2 separate regions of the Homo sapiens genome follow, and region 1 is linked to region 2. The links are contacts of gene promoters, found by promoter capture Hi-C in blood cells and fetal thymus (Javierre and others, 2016). All regions are on one chromosome and are shown on one strand. Each heading gives the region's core, a stretch centred on a gene start or on the middle of the fragment in contact. The rest is flanking DNA. Distances are from core to core; before and after follow the strand shown.

The links. Contacts are between HindIII fragments. The CHiCAGO score rates a contact against its expected background, and 5 or more counts as called.
Region 1: a fragment that was not itself captured here is called in contact with the fragment with the promoter of SLC71A1 in region 2 in 8 of 17 cell types (activated CD4 T cells, non-activated CD4 T cells, megakaryocytes and 5 more); the score reaches 6.8 in activated CD4 T cells.

Annotation. Positions count from the first base shown.
Region 1 is chr1:100,869,289-100,872,144 of GRCh38, reverse strand. No RefSeq gene overlaps it. Among named protein-coding and RNA genes, the nearest start is that of EXTL2, 24 kb to the left of the region's middle. The HindIII fragment of the contact is 690 bases long and covers 1,199-1,888 here.
Region 2 is chr1:100,036,334-100,039,353 of GRCh38, reverse strand. SLC71A1 (solute carrier family 71 member 1) reads right to left here and starts at 1,259. Exons shown (of 12, transcript NM_033055.3): 1 at 1,038-1,259. The coding sequence starts at 1,121. It overlaps LOC124904230 (a long non-coding RNA gene), which reads left to right and starts at 1,346. Exons shown (of 7, transcript XR_007066251.1): 1 at 1,346-1,624. RefSeq lists silencers at 633-822, 1,283-1,462 and enhancers at 943-1,222, 1,185-1,787. The HindIII fragment of the contact is 6,938 bases long and covers 1-2,577 here.

The DNA.
Region 1 (2,856 bases), core at 294-2,793, 830 kb before region 2:
GTTCAGTCTACATTACAAAGACTCTTGCATTGTAGATAGACTCCTATTAAAGCTGTCTTTCCCTGAACGCCTCTTATTCTTGCCTCAAATGATCTGGAGAAGAGATGCTCAGGCTTAAAACTTTGTAAGAGAAGCAATGCAACGTAGCGGGTCAATTGTGCACACTTTGCCATTAGAATACTTGGGCTCAAATCCTTGCTAGACCTCATTTTCTCTTTACTCAGTTTCCTTATCTGCAAAATAAGGATAATATCTGCCTGGAGTTTGTTTTAAGGAATAAAAGAGATAACTTGCATAAATACAGCACAGTGCCTTGCCCATTTTAGATGTTCAGTAAATGAAAGCTGTTGGGATGACAGTGTTATTGATAATAAGGACAGAATTAATCCTTCCACTCACCACCTAGGTGTTAGGAAGCCCCTGCATCCACCAGGTGAGACATTCAGGAAATTATTTGCATTTAACTATGGGTAAGGAACCATGGCAGTTTCATCTCCTATTCATTATTTATTTCAAATACTGTTTTTCCTTTCTTTTTTTTTGAGACGGAGTCTCGCTCTGTCAAATACTATTTTTCTTATGATTAAAGCAGTATATATTCATTCCGGCAATTTTGGCATATTCAGAAAAGTATAAAGAAGTAATTAAAAGCCCACTACCCCAATTAACAATGGCATTTTTGTATGTGTTCCTGCAGACTTTTCTAGGCATATATTTTACTAGCATGATTTATCTGGTATTTTATTATATGAATAAACCATAATTTATGCACTCAATCATACTACCATTTTATTTTATACTTTTTTACCATTATAAAAACATTTGGATAAGTATCTTTGCCTTGAAAAGATATCTTTGAGCATATCTATAATTATTTCTTTAAAATCAAGTCCAACAAAGTTCAATACCTGGGTCTATCTAGTAGTGTGTGTGCTTTTAGGGTTTTGCTACATACTGCTAAATGCTTCCAGAGGTGTTGACATGGCTAGCCTATTCATACCACATCTGAGAGCACCTGTTTCCTGTCAGTTTCCCAAAATTGAGTATTATTTAACAGGTTCTTTCATATATTTTTTCTACATATAAAATACTCAAATAGTGCTGGATTTGAAAGGCTGCTCATTCATAGAACTCTGTGTTGAGAAGACTGAAAAGGCAGGCAATCAACTATCAAAAAAACTGGAGGGCAATATAAGCTTCAGGAAGCATTTGACAGCTTCTAAAAACTTTACTCCAAGGTTTAGAGTATAAACAATGAAAATTTCCTGGTACCAGCAATAAACCGTTTGGAAGCAACAGAAATGGCCACATTTGTTTCCTCTGGGAAGACCTAAGGCTTTGAACCTGAGGCCAGGAAGGGATATCTGTGTGTGCTAGAATACATGCACTTGAGGGGGTAGGAGGGACAGGGAGTGGAATGTGGGAGAGGGAGTGGAGGATATTGCTGTGATGGAGGATGAGTATGAAGGTACTGAATCTCAAAGGTTGCCACAATGACTTAAATGGTGAGATTATATCATCCTCTATCCCATGCCAGCTTTTATCGTTTATTGTTCCACTAAGTTGCTTTCAACTTTGTTCACTTTCTCCCTTCCCTCCTTCTTCCCCTCCCTCATTCTTCTTTCCTCCACTCCTTGAAAGCCTTCTTAATATACAACTCAAATATATAGCTACCATAGATGAAAAAAAGACCATTTGGTACCCTAGAAACATGCACTGAGTCCTGGGTTGACTTAATTTCATCTGAAGAATAGGGATGAAAATACCTGCCCCAAGATTCACAGGCCATAACGTGTAAAGAGAACTTTGCAATAGCAGGAAAATTAAAGAATATTGTAAAAGCCATCACTGATAAACAGCAGCTTGGCCAACAGTTAAAAAGAAAGCTTGGTTGTGAAGTAGTAACTGTGTCAGAATTATACCTTAGAGTATAAAAAGAAGCGAGAGTAAGTATGCAAGTACTGAAAGCAATTTAAGGGGCCCACTTTAGCTCTAGCTCAGAAGGAATATGTAAATGAAGTATTTATTTAATCTAGAGAGGCCTCAAGTCTCTTTTCTTTTTCATATGTCAATATTTCTTTTATCTAAAAGGAAAAAGAATCAAATTCTTGATTGGAATATTTTCAGTAGTTTAAAAATATATATATCTGAAGCAATCAGTCTTACTTTATAGCCGTAGGTCCTAACCTGGACTGATTTTGCCCCCGAGGGGACATCTGGCAATGTCTGGAGACATTTTTGGTTGTTACAATGGAGGGCTTGCTACTGGCGTCTAGTGAGTCGAGGCCAGAGATGCTGCTAAGCATCCCACAATGCACAAGACAGGCCCTCACCACAAAGAACTAAGTGTCCCAAAATGTCAGTAGTGCTAAAGTTGAGAAAAAATATATTTGGCATTATATTATGGAATATTTCATCAGTCTTGTATCATATCACACTACTTATCACAATGAAAGTTGCATTTTTAAAGTTTTATCCTGTATAACAATGCCTATTGGAACAGAACATTAAGGGAAAATGTGCTTGTATTTCTGATAAAACATCTGATGCATGATGCTATGACCCTCAACCTCATCAAAGAGCCAGAAATTTCCCTGGTTAAGGTTTATTTTTGATTCATTTTCTTTTTCTCATCCACATACCTCTTTCTATTTTCACATATTGAAGAAATAGAGAATGGAGCTTGATTTTCTGGGAGGGAACATATGAATGAATATATATATTTCTGAAGCACCACAGAGAAATATTATATAATATGCTGTGTGTTTTAATAATGTCTCAGAGAAAGTCGGCATGGTTGAGTTAAAATAAGCTAAATATAAATTCTCAGGTAAGCATACTTATGTGTGAGTATGT
Region 2 (3,020 bases), core at 10-2,509:
CACATTTACTACTGTGCTAGCAGTTGATCGCGGCTCCAATAAGATATAAACAGAAATGGAATTAATGGTACAATTTCTGCACACTTCAGGTAAGTGAAACATATATATCACCTTTCCATTCTATTTCAGAACGCGGTATCAGCGGATGCAACAAAGACCACACAGTGTAGCAACGGAGAAATGTTAGCATAAAACAGTTTTGTTTTGTTTTGTTTTTCAATTAAAAATCCTACGTCCCCAGCTGGTTAACTACACACTGCATAAAGTTTACTGTGATGACAACTGTTTCTAAAAAGCAAACCTTTCTTCCCTTCAAAGTGTCCTCCTCCGATCCTTAGGCCATGACTGATTCTAATACTTTTGATCTTAAGACACACAGTGATGACTTTTCTTTGAAAACTAGCAGGTTCGAATGTAGGCCCCAGGTGTCTGCCGTCATGCTTCCGACTCCGGGAAGTGAGGGAAGCCCATCTCCGGTCAGGGTTTACTGTAAGCAGCCCAGAGCCGGAGCACCGACGCAGAGAGACGTGGAAACAGAAAGCGAACGTACTACGGGGCCGCAGCGGGATCCCCGCGCCAGACGCCACCCCGTTAGCAACATATGGGAGAGCAGGGATGGTTCCCAGCCCCTTGACAAGCGCGGCGACGGCTCCGCGGGGCCTGGCGGCGAAGGCGAGGCGAGGCTGCGGCGACGAGGGGCGCGGCGGGCGGGCCGCCGGGGGAGCCCCGCACATTCCTCCCCGCGGCGGAGGCGCACGTGGGGTTCGAGGCCGCAGGGCCTGCAGAGGCGGCCAGAGCAGAGGGCGGCAGGTGCGGGAAAGAAAGAGGACGGGCCCCGGAGGCCGCAAGCCCGAGCAGCGGAGGACGATTCCCGGAGCGGCGGCATGCGGGTCCGCGACCCCGAGGCACCGGCAGCTCGGACAGGGTGGGGGAAGGGAGGGAGGCACCGGGACGCCTAGAGACGGCAGTGTGGGGGTCTGAAGGAGAGACCGGATGGGGGCCCCGAGGGACGCTCGCCGGCGCGGAACTCAGCTCACCGTGCCTCCGTCCTTAATGATGATCTTCTTGGCCAGCATGATACTGCGGTTCGCGGCCCGTTTCTTCTTCTTCCCCTGGGTCATTTTACCATCCTCGATTCCTGGCGCTGCTGCAGCCACTCCCGGGGCGGCAGGCCCCAGCAGCTAGTGCCGTCCCACCACTACTGCCGGGCCGAGCCGCTCTGGGCGCCCGCCGCCATCTTGAGGGCCCGGCCTGCCTCCGGCGGCGCGTCACAATCGTGCGATCAGCCGACGAGCGGGCCCCGCCCCTCCCGCGTGATACCGCCCCGCCCGCTCGCCGCCAGCCCACTCTACAGTAGCCGCGCGGCCAGGGTAACCGCGGGCTCGCGTGGGTGCTGCTGGCTACCTGTACAACTTCGTGCTCCGGCGTCACCAGCTAGCTAAATCCTCGCAACGGTTCTGGGCGATAGGGGCCGTTTTTGTCCCCCTTCTTCAGCAGATGAGGGAATTTGTTTCAAAAAGTTGTTACCTGCTCACGGAAACAGACGTCCTAAGCTATTAACACAATCTCCAGCTGTGTTCTAACCAAGACAGGAACCGAAGGGAACAGTAAAAAATCATTTTCCGTAAGTAATGGGTAACTTAAGAGATAATGTAGTGTTTCAGAAACAGTCTTGTCCTTTTGGTGTTCAGGGACCCCCGCTAGAACTCAGCTGGCTCACGCTTGTTTACCTCCCTAGACCCAGGACCTTTTTTATTCCCTGCCAAAAAAAATACCTTACCTGACCGATGTCACCCTTTGTGGCCCTCTACGTTTTTACTGTATTGTTTAAAAATAAATTTGATGGGAACATTGCTAGAAAGGGCAATTTACACAAGTGGAAGTGGACTTTAAAGTATCACAATGTTAAAATTAGATATTGATAACTACCGTGTTGTATAATAGAATATCCTTTTCCTTAAGAGAAAAACACGAGGGATAGGGATACACCGCATGCTCCCTACTCTCAGATGGTTAGGGAGTAACATGTATGTGTATGTATATGTAGGTGGGGAAAAGAGAGGGACAAAGCAAAATGGCGAATGTTTAAAAGTACTGAAACTAGGTATGGTAGTTCTAAGATATGTTCACAGATTCAATGATATTCCTCCCTGGAAGAGGTGGACTCTAATTCCCCTCCCCTTGAGTGTAGACTAGGCTTAGTGACTCTTGATAGATCAAAACAGAAGTGACAGTATTGACTTCAGAGGCTAGGTCATAAAAGGCACTGCATCTTCCTTTGCGGGTCTCTTTTTCATTCATTTTGGGGCTTGGAGCCTGGGGAAGCCTGCTTCCGTGTTTTCAGGACACTCAAGCAGCCTATGGAGAGATCCAGTTGTCCAGGAACTGTTTGTAGCCTCCTACCAAATGCCACGGAGTGAGTCACTTTGGAAGTAGATCCTCCAACCTTGGTCAAGCCTTTGGCTGACTACAACTTCATGAGAGACCCAGAGGTAGGACCACCTAGCTTAGCCACTCCTGGAATCCTGACTCAGAAACAGTGTAAGATGAAAAGTACTTGGTGTAAGCCACTAAGCTTTGGGGTTATTTGTTACACAGCTATAAATAACTAATATATAGGGTAAAAGGAAAAACAGTAAATGAATGTATGAGTTCTTTGTACTGTTTTTGCAACTTTTCTGTAAGTTTGAAATTATTTCCAAATAAAATGTTAAAAAGTAAATTTGATTGAATTTCCTTTTCCTTGTATTTTCATACTGACTAAAAATGGAAAAAAAAACTAATTTCCATGGAAGGGAGAAGAAAAGCAATTTATAGCCTGATAGATACTTCTAATTATATTTTCCAATCAATAAGTATATTCATTATACTTGTTTTGAAACATATATTCTCATTTTGAAACTTTTTTTATTATTTATTTTTTGAGACAGAGTTTTGCTCTTGTTGCCCAGGCTGCAGTGCAATAGTGCCAACTTGGCTCACTGCAACTTCCAGCTCCCAGGTTCAAGTGATTCTCCTGC